Linked DNA regions of Homo sapiens: all the other regions are linked to region 3. Evidence: promoter capture Hi-C in 16 types of primary human blood cells and fetal thymus (Javierre and others, 2016). All regions are on one chromosome and are shown on one strand. Each heading gives the region's core, a stretch centred on a gene start or on the middle of the fragment in contact. The rest is flanking DNA. Distances are from core to core; before and after follow the strand shown. Region 1 overlaps RBFOX2 (RNA binding fox-1 homolog 2). Region 2 overlaps RBFOX2 (RNA binding fox-1 homolog 2). Region 3 holds the start of APOL6 (apolipoprotein L6).

Region 1 (3,061 bases), core at 231-2,730, 130 kb after region 3:
AAAAAACAAACTAAGCCCTTCAGAAACACATGCACTGTTAATTCTGTTTTAAATATAATAAAAACCATTTCACTTTGACATTACCTATTAAGTTTTACTGAAAGTCAAAAGGCCTACTTACTGTGACTTCCAAAAAAGTATTTTGATAATATTTTGAAAGAAATAAATAATTTCCCTTTGCATGAAATTAAAAGCCATGATAATAGGGAAAACATTACAGCAAATTACTTGTGTCTAAGGAATGGGAATAGAAGTTTTATCTCCCCTAACTACAGCCTAAACTTAAGCCCAACCTAAACCTAGATCCCCATTATTCCAGAAATCTACCTGAGAGAAGTAATGAGAACACATTAAGTAAACATTTGCTAGAATAATTAGAATGTTCCTAGCATAAAGAAAAGATAAATATTTAAGGTGATGGCTATCCCAATTACTCTGATTTGATTATATGAATGTATCAGATTATCACATATACCCTGAAAATATGTACATCTAATATCTATCAATTTTTAAAAAAGAAAAAAAATTGCTAGAAATCTAAATAATTATTGCTGGGCTGTATAATATTTGTAGTCCTTTAGTAGACTTAATAATGAGCACTATCTGAAGAGCTGAACAACTTCAGCATATTCAATATTTTAATACATATCCATTCAATAGAGGATATACCAAAGTATTTTGGCAAAAACTTATAGAAAATGTAAATGTTACAATCTGTGTATTTCTTTATTTAATAAGCTTGATAATTATCACCAAAAATTGTTATGTGGTTGGATGATGGTGAGTAAGATGGTAGAAAGTCTGACCCACAATGGAATAACTTTTGAATAAAACAAGTTCTTAATCACTAAAAGTTTCTAGCAGAGAATGCAAGGTCAAGAATACAGGGGGCTGAACTAGGTGACCATTTTGGGTTATGTTTTAAGGTTCTATATGAGAAAATAAGACTAGAAGGATACATGAGAATATCACTAGTGCACATTTCTCTTTAATAAACTATGTATTTTTTTCTTTATACTTTTCATTAAGCATCATGTTTTCCTTTTCAAAGACTGCTTTTTTAAGATGTTACCCAAAGCATATATAAGGAGAGTAAATAGTTTATCATTCAAACTGGGACATTCTGAGAGAGAAAGGGGTCATTTATTAATAATTATGCTAAGATAACAGGTGTAAATTGAGGCTAGCCTGGATAAGCCAGGAAATATGGTCACTCTAGGCATTATCTTATTATTTGTGTTAATAATCTGTCATTACTGGTGAAATCTGGAGAATTAACAAAGCTACATAAACTCATATAATAATTTTCTAGGTTCTATATGAATAAATTAGTTAATTTTTTGGCAGGAATACCACTTTCCATCATATATCTTAATAGTACATTTTTAAAAGCCTAGTCTATCTCTGTTTCAGTTAATCAAAGAAACTTAGATACAGGTGATTCTATGTTTTTATAAAGGATTAGGGAGTAAAAAGACTAAAATTCACATGAAATAATTTAAATATATATGTATGCACGTGTGTGCACAAATATGATATATATTCATTCTATAATCTAAGTAAGCCAAATCTAGAATATGAAGGCAAAAGAAGGAAAAAAGGAAAAAACTAGTCAACAACTAAGAAAAAACTACTATAGAGTAATTCTACTTTAAAGGCAAGCTGGAAAAAGAAGAATACTGGCAGACAAGGAGGGCATGAGCATGGCAGTGGAACACCGTTTACTTATGTTTTCAAATGGGTATATCCTAAAACCCTGGGTGATGGTCTTATTATACAAAATAAGATATGGTATGGAGTTGCTTTTTGCTTTGGAACAATTTGATTAAACCCTGTTTTACATTAAGTATTGCTATCTTAGAGTTATTTTGTGACTAGTTTTTCCATTACTGCTCTAAAAAAATTCAATAAAGCTAATTTCTGTACAGAAAAGCACTCTGTTTAAAAGTTAGAGGAACTCTTAGCTAAACAATAGGACTATATAAAGCCTCCTTTTCTCTGGTTATTTTCAAAATACGCTGTAATTTTACAGTCAACCCCAAACATATAAAAGGATTAAGAAACTAAACTTAATTCACAAAACAAAAAGTGCTCATTAATTTCTCTTAGGTGGATCCCAGAGGAGGCATCCATGGGTTTGATTCCAAAATAAATCTCTATTAGGAGCCTCAGAACAGTTCCAAGGGCACCCATTCCAGCAAATAACTTTAGGTAGCAGTTAAGAAAGCTTCAAAGGACAAAAACAAGGTTTTGTATCAGTCCTTGAAGGCAGATTCAGGGCAATTCTGAATTCTATGCTTTGTTTTTAAAACATTTACCAATTAGTACACAGTCTGTGCACCCTTTAGCAGCCCAAAGAAAAATGGGGCAGTGAGGACACAGCATCAAGCTGACAGAAGCAGCCTATGCTTTTAGATTTCTCAAAGAGAAAGCTCATGTCATTACTTTCAAATGAGTTACATGAGAGAAGTAATTGGATCAGGTAAATTTAAAAAAATGTGGGGCCAGGATGCAGTGGCTCACACCTGTAATCCCAGCACTGTGGGAAGCCAAGGCAGGCAGATCACTTGAGACCAGGAGTTTGAGACCAGCCTGGCCAACATGGTGAAACTCTGTCTGTACTAAAAATACCAAAAATTAGCTAGGGGTGGTAGTGTGCGCCTGTTATCCCAGCTACTCGGGAAGCTGAGGCACAAGAATTGCTTGAACCCAGGAGGCGGAGGTTGCAGTGAGTCAAGACTGTGCCAATGCAACTTTAGCCTGGGCAACAGAGCGAGAATCTGCCTCAAAAAAAAAAAAAAAAAAAAGAAAAGAAAAGAAAAGAAAAAGAATTGGTAGCAGGCAAATCCTTAAAGTCAATGAAAGAAGCCTTAAGAAAGATCAATTTCCTTTGCTTCACAATAATTCAAACAAATTATTTTCTTGGTAAGGAGTAAGTCCTCAATGCCTGATGAAACTACATTGGCCTTCTAGTTGTTAGATTCTAGTTAAGAATATTTTAAGTACATACACTTAACAACTAAAAATATTTAAAACTACTTCAGATAGTAGTTTACAGAGT
Region 2 (3,048 bases), core at 20-2,519, 100 kb after region 3:
AGGCTTTTATAAAACATGAGAACAAAGTGCAGTTTGAAACACCAAGGTTTTCATTACTGTTTCTTAAGTTTTTCAAAAAGAACAAGGGTGGGAAGGAGGTAGAAGAGACAGGGTTCAGGCGTGGGGAGGGATATGGCGCCACATTTATTAATCACATTAAAAACTAAGCATGCCAACATCTGGAGCTAAACAACCAGCAAAATCACCACGTTCAGACTCGTATTGGCTAACTCTATCTATCCCAGCATTCTCTTGGGACAGCGGTTTGCCCTAGGCTCTACCACAAGCTCGGTGAAGTACACAGCCTCAATTACTAGAGCGTGCAGCCACAACGACCTGGTATTACGGAAACAGTCAGTCACCACTTGAGTTAACATTCCATACCCTAACGACTGGCCCCTCCCCAGCCCAAAGAAATAGTCAATCTTGCCCACCCTAGCCCTGGCCCACACCACAATGTTAATAATTATAACAAGCAGTAACCCATCTGTTATATCAGAGAAGGGAACAGAGACTCCACTGAGAGATTTAGAGTGAGATGTTAACATTTCTTCAGCTGACTGCACAAACAAACAAACAAAAAAAGAGGAGAAATAATTCATTTGGAGATATGAAGTCATGAAATAGCTGATGTGTATTGCTTTTAACCATGCACTGATGCAAAACTGAAGCAACCATTAATAATAAAAATTAAAAAGGACATATGTATTTACACACAATCAGACCTGTTTGATCTGAAGCAGTTTGCAGATTCTATCTGTGTGTGATTTGAAATAAAACAAAAAATGGGGATTAGCATGGCCACAGCACACCCTAATGTAGGAGGGCACACACGGACGGCTTTTTGGAACTCTGATAGCTGGATAAATTTGGCTTGGCTAAGCTTGATTCAGATACACACATGCCCCTTTAAAAAGAATTATTCTTATTCCTTTGCAATTCATTCTGAATGATACCTGGTGTCCCCAGTGGGGCTGCCCAGTGCTTCATCGCTCCCCTATTCAACCTGCCTGACACTGGCAATATAATTCAGTCCTGACCCACAGCACTCACATGTATGCTCGCCCTCTGTCAACAACCGTATATTCTAATCCACAGCATTCTGCTAAAATATTTCCTGTGTTTAGGAATTTTACTTTTTCACATATCTGTAACCTATCTCTGACTTCAAGTTCCAGCTTCTTCAAAGGAAAATGCCTTTGAAAAGTTGGCTTTAAGATCCTTTCCAGTGTTTTCTGCAGTTGTTAAAGTCTCAGTTTTTCATGGCTCAATGTCATCTCCTAGGGCTTTTCTACTCTGCTCTGAGCCAATTTTATCATCAAATTAACTTTATGATGTTGCCACGTTGACCACATGATCTTTCGGCACAGTTCTGTAGCTGGGTTTTAAACTAGAGCAAAATACAATAGAATATAATCCCTCCTATATCTGACCTTTATCTGCATATTTATTAGTTTAATCTCACACTGGCAGACTTTTGCCTTGTCTTGATTTTAACCTAGCTTTTAATTTTATTATATTTTTGTTTTAGGTTTACATTAAAACAGGACTTTGGTGAGCATGTGATGTCAAGACACCTTCTTTCTACCCGGAAGACAATGACATTATGTGACACTGAGGAGGAGAGTGTGTATTTCAAGACCAGCAGACAAAATGAAAGCTTGTTACCTACATGTAGTGTATAGATCAATAGAGCAGAGGGTTGGGGGATGGCGGCAGGGGGTGGGTAAGGAATGGCAGGTGTGATGCTGAAAATCACTACAGCAGAGCAGAGATCTATTCCAACTAGCGTGGGTTTAATGCTGGGCCTCCAGGAATCACTTTATTTATCCTTGGATGAATCTAACTCCCTCTTTTTCCTCACCACCTCCCCACCCCTGCTAAGAACCATGGTTCTAGGAGATATTATAGAGTTCTTTTGTGGCAAAATGGCATCACTGATTAAATGTGAGTAACACACAAACTTACAATAATGGTGATACCGTCACTGCTTTTGATTGAGCTCTGTCTCCTTTGAAAAGTACTTATGAAAAAAATTTTAAAGTATTTAAATTTTATCTTATTATTGTTTAAAATTGGGGTTAAGGGAAAAAATTGCTATGATCAACCTGATGTCTTCCACCTATTATTTCTATGGTAGATGAGAGACGATTTTCAATAATCAAACCTTTCAAACATTATTATTCCACATCTCCCCAAATTAGTTCATTTCCAAAATCTTGCTGGGTAGCCACATAAATAAACTGGATTGTGAAAAGCCATCGACTATTTTCTTTCTCCTAGCATCCAGCTATCAGCAATCCTTCTAACAAGTATGCTATTATCCAAATGAACTCACTGATCTTCTTAGGTGAAAGGAGAAGAGGCCAAGGGAAATGCATGTCTCAATGTTTGAGTCCCATATGTCTAGATTTTTAAGGCAACTTCAAACTTATGTAGCAGCACAGTCCAATTACAACTGGTATCTCACTACAGGGCCCAATGTGGGATTCAGAAATCCTATTTGTACAGTTCTACTTCCTCTTTTTTCTCTTTTCTAAATTTATAGTAGTAAGAAAATGTCCCCAACTGCTAAGATCTAAATATAAAAAAACAGTTTAAATACCACAGGTACATGTGACTGACAGATTAAAAGAGGTGGCAGTGATGGGACAGTGCATATTACACACCTGGCTGGGATATGTGTCAAGAGGACAGGAGCACTTAATTTTAGAGGAAGTGCCATTATGTACGGAATGTGACTGTGGGCACTGCTGAGGTAGCAGGGCTTAGATCACACGCTCACAAGTCTTGATTGTCCAAAAAAGCCTCTGTTCCCATCTCTAACGTGGAGCTGGAATGGTTAGTATAATTCAATTTTTTCACTGCAATCCACAATCTGATTGATTGGCAGGTCACACTGGCACTCCTACCTGAGGTATTTTAGCGCTAATGATTGGTTCCTGTAAGACTATTCTATAACAGAACACAGGAAGAGCAGTTCAAAAAACACAGCTGTGGAAGGAAAACAATCATACAAAAAGCCCACTAAGGGGCCCACCAGCCTTT
Region 3 (2,865 bases), core at 206-2,705:
GGAGGCCAGGAGCAGGGGTGGGTTGTGGAATCCGGGATGCCACGGTTGGAAAGGCCCCTACAAGACCCAACTCAGCAGCCCTTAACCCCTCATTCCTGCTCGTAGGGCCCAGGGACAGGAGGTGGCCTCTATCACAGCAAAGCCAGGACTGGCTAGGTGGGCCGCACCTTCTGCAAAGCAACAGCCTCCAATGTGGTCTCAGCTAGGGGTGGTGACTGGGGACTTCTGGGCATATAAATACAAACAAACCACATGGCTTCTGATCACAATTTGACACAAATGCTAGAGAGACACAGATCTCAGCCCGTAACCTCACTGTGGGCTCATTCTTGTAGACACAGAGCCTAGGACTGGTTCTTAGCTGTGTAATCACAAACAACCCACAACTTCTAGAAGCCTGGGTTTCCTCTTCCTTAAAGTGGGAGACAGAGTATCACAATCCTATATCTCCAATCCTTGAGGCCAGATGCATGTCAGAGTTCCTGATTTGGGGGATTTTTAGAAAGGTAATGGGGTGCAGGTATCGTGTACTATGTAACCCACGCACCCGCAGCAGCCCTCCTCAGTCAAACATATTAATATTTCTGCAGTGACTGTAAATATTCAAATTAAGCAGGAGACATAAAAACCACAGGTGAATTCATGCCAGATCAGGTCAGGTTTTGCCACTAAATGAATAAATTATCATTTTTTTTTAAGTTTTCATTCTGAGGCCAGGTGCGGTGGCTCACGCCTGTAATCCCAGCACTTTGGGAGGCCTAGATGGATGGATCATTTGAGGTCAGCAGTTTGAGACCAGCCTGGCCAACATGGCAAAACCCCATCTCTACTAAAAATACAAAAATCAGCCGGGCGTGGTGGCAGGTGCCTGTAATCTCAGCTACTAGGGAGGCTGAGACAGGGGAATAGCTTGAACGTAGGAGGCGGAGGTTGCAGTGAGCCGAGATCGTGCCATTGCACTCCAGCCTGGGCAACAGAGCGAGACTTCATCTCAAAAAACAATAATAATAATAATAATAAAATAAAGTTTCCATTTTCAGAGGATTCTGCATTCAGAGTTATTAGCCCTTTAATGCTGTGCACCTCATAGGGTTGTTACCCACATCAGCGTCACGTAAGATGCTGTGGAGGAAAGCAGTTTCAGAACAATCAGTGATGACAGCTACTGTGAATCCACTATTCAACAGGCGCCCCATCGCTTGCTCATGGGCTCCTCACCATAGCTCTAAGCCACAGGAGCTATTTTCATACCCCATATAGGTCCATCCTATAACACAGCCAGGACAGAGACGAGAGACTCAGGCCTCCTGACTTGGATTCTGCTCTTTCACCTCCTTGTTCATCCAATTAGAGAAACTGGCAAAAAGGAAACTGAAAGTGACAGCTGGAGCCCATGATTTCCTGGAAGAGCCCTAGAGCTTTGCTTTTTCTCTCCTGCAGCACTTAACCGAAACCAGTTTTGCAATCAATTCCTGTTCAAAGGCCACCCTACTCTTCCTATCCGTCTTTCTCCAGCCCAGACACTCACAGCCCCCTGCCAGACCAGGGGACCTCGGAGAGGCAAGGACAGAGGTTCAGGATCTTCCTCTCCCTCGGGACCCAAGGCCACAAAGGAGAGCTCCGTGGAGAGAAGGTGAGACGGCGGGCAGAAGTCGGGGGAGGAGGGGGCTGCCGCTCTGGTCCCTGAAGGACAGAGCCCCCAAGGGGTTGGCTTTAGGCACCTGACTCAGGGAAAAGAGCTGCTGTGAAAGCAGCGGGGTTCAAATGCCAGCCAGAGCTTGAGGAGAGTCTGAGGATTAACTTCTCCTGTGTTAATCCTGGTAGGTTTCCCTCCCTTACAGCCATTTCAGGGTTAAATTGAAACATGCTAAAGCATGCGATGTGACTAGCCAAGTTGCATTTGTCCCTCCACTGCTGGGGATCCGAGGGCTTAGGCAGAGGGGACCTGGCCCTTAGAAAGCAGATGATTACATCAGCCACAGGCGTTTCCCTAGAAATTCAGTAGAGGAGTGGTTTAGGGGTGTCATCTCACAAGAAAAAAGGTGCTGGGTGAGTTGTCTAGAAACTGCAAAGCCAACCTACAGAGTTTTCTAGATTGTAGATTTATGTGAAGTTGTTTGGGGAAGAGGGTGAGGGAGTTTGTGATAAATATTAGGGCGACTAGGCCAGGCGCAGTGGCTCATGCCTGTAATCCCAGCATTTTGGGAGGCTAAGGCAAGCGGATTGCTTGAGCCCAAGAGTTTGAGACCAGCATGGGCAACATAGTGAGACCCCGTCTCTACAAAAAATCAAAAAATAGCTGGGCGTGATGGTGCACACCTGTAGTCCCAGCTACTTGGGAGGGTGCTGAGGTGGAAGGATCACTTGAACCCAGGAAGTCAAGAATGCAGTGAGCAGTGATCGCACCACTGCACTCCAGCCTGGGCAACAGAGTGAGACCCGGTCTCAAAAAAAAAAAAAAAAATCTAGGGAGGTTATCTTGAAGCTGTGTTTTCAAAGTAAGCAGATTTTTCTTACTTAGATTGTGTATCTGCAGAAGTTGGTTTTGTGGGGGAAGGCAGGTAAGGAAAGACTGTCATAAATATCCTGTAAGCTTTCAAATGAAAGTAAGTTCTCAAATCCTCTTCCAATAAACCTCTCACAAGCAAATCCTCTCGCAACCACCAAGAGCAGGTCAGAGGGGATGGAATGGGACCTGCTTAGATGAGTTTCCTGCTGTTACCTTTGCCCTGCATCCCATAGGACTAATGTAAAAAAATGAGAGAGGTATTGGCGGACGCTGGTAAAAAATGGGGTTCCAGACCAGAGTCTCTTACCCCCAGCAACCTTGTCATGTTCAACCAGGTGATCCCTGGTTGTGGGGGC

What was found. The method cuts DNA at HindIII sites, captures the fragments that hold promoters and counts their contacts. A CHiCAGO score of 5 or more calls a contact.
Region 1: a fragment that was not itself captured here is called in contact with the fragment with the promoter of APOL6 in region 3 in 1 of 17 cell types (M1 macrophages); the score reaches 6.0 in M1 macrophages.
Region 2: a contact is called between a fragment that was not itself captured here and the fragment with the promoter of APOL6 in region 3, in 2 of 17 cell types (endothelial precursors and total CD4 T cells). The highest score is 6.8, in endothelial precursors.

Annotation. Positions count from the first base shown.
Region 1 is chr22:35,773,055-35,776,115 of GRCh38, forward strand. The region is part of intron 5 of RBFOX2 (RNA binding fox-1 homolog 2); the gene reads right to left. Among named protein-coding and RNA genes, the nearest start is that of APOL5, 57 kb to the left of the region's middle. The HindIII fragment of the contact is 1,489 bases long and covers 737-2,225 here.
Region 2 is chr22:35,749,701-35,752,748 of GRCh38, forward strand. The region is part of intron 11 of RBFOX2 (RNA binding fox-1 homolog 2); the gene reads right to left. Among named protein-coding and RNA genes, the nearest start is that of APOL5, 33 kb to the left of the region's middle. The HindIII fragment of the contact is 777 bases long and covers 882-1,658 here.
Region 3 is chr22:35,646,991-35,649,855 of GRCh38, forward strand. It overlaps APOL6 (apolipoprotein L6), which reads left to right and starts at 1,456. Exons shown (of 3, transcript NM_030641.4): 1 at 1,456-1,633. RefSeq lists an enhancer at 1,161-1,460. The HindIII fragment of the contact is 8,876 bases long and covers 1-2,591 here.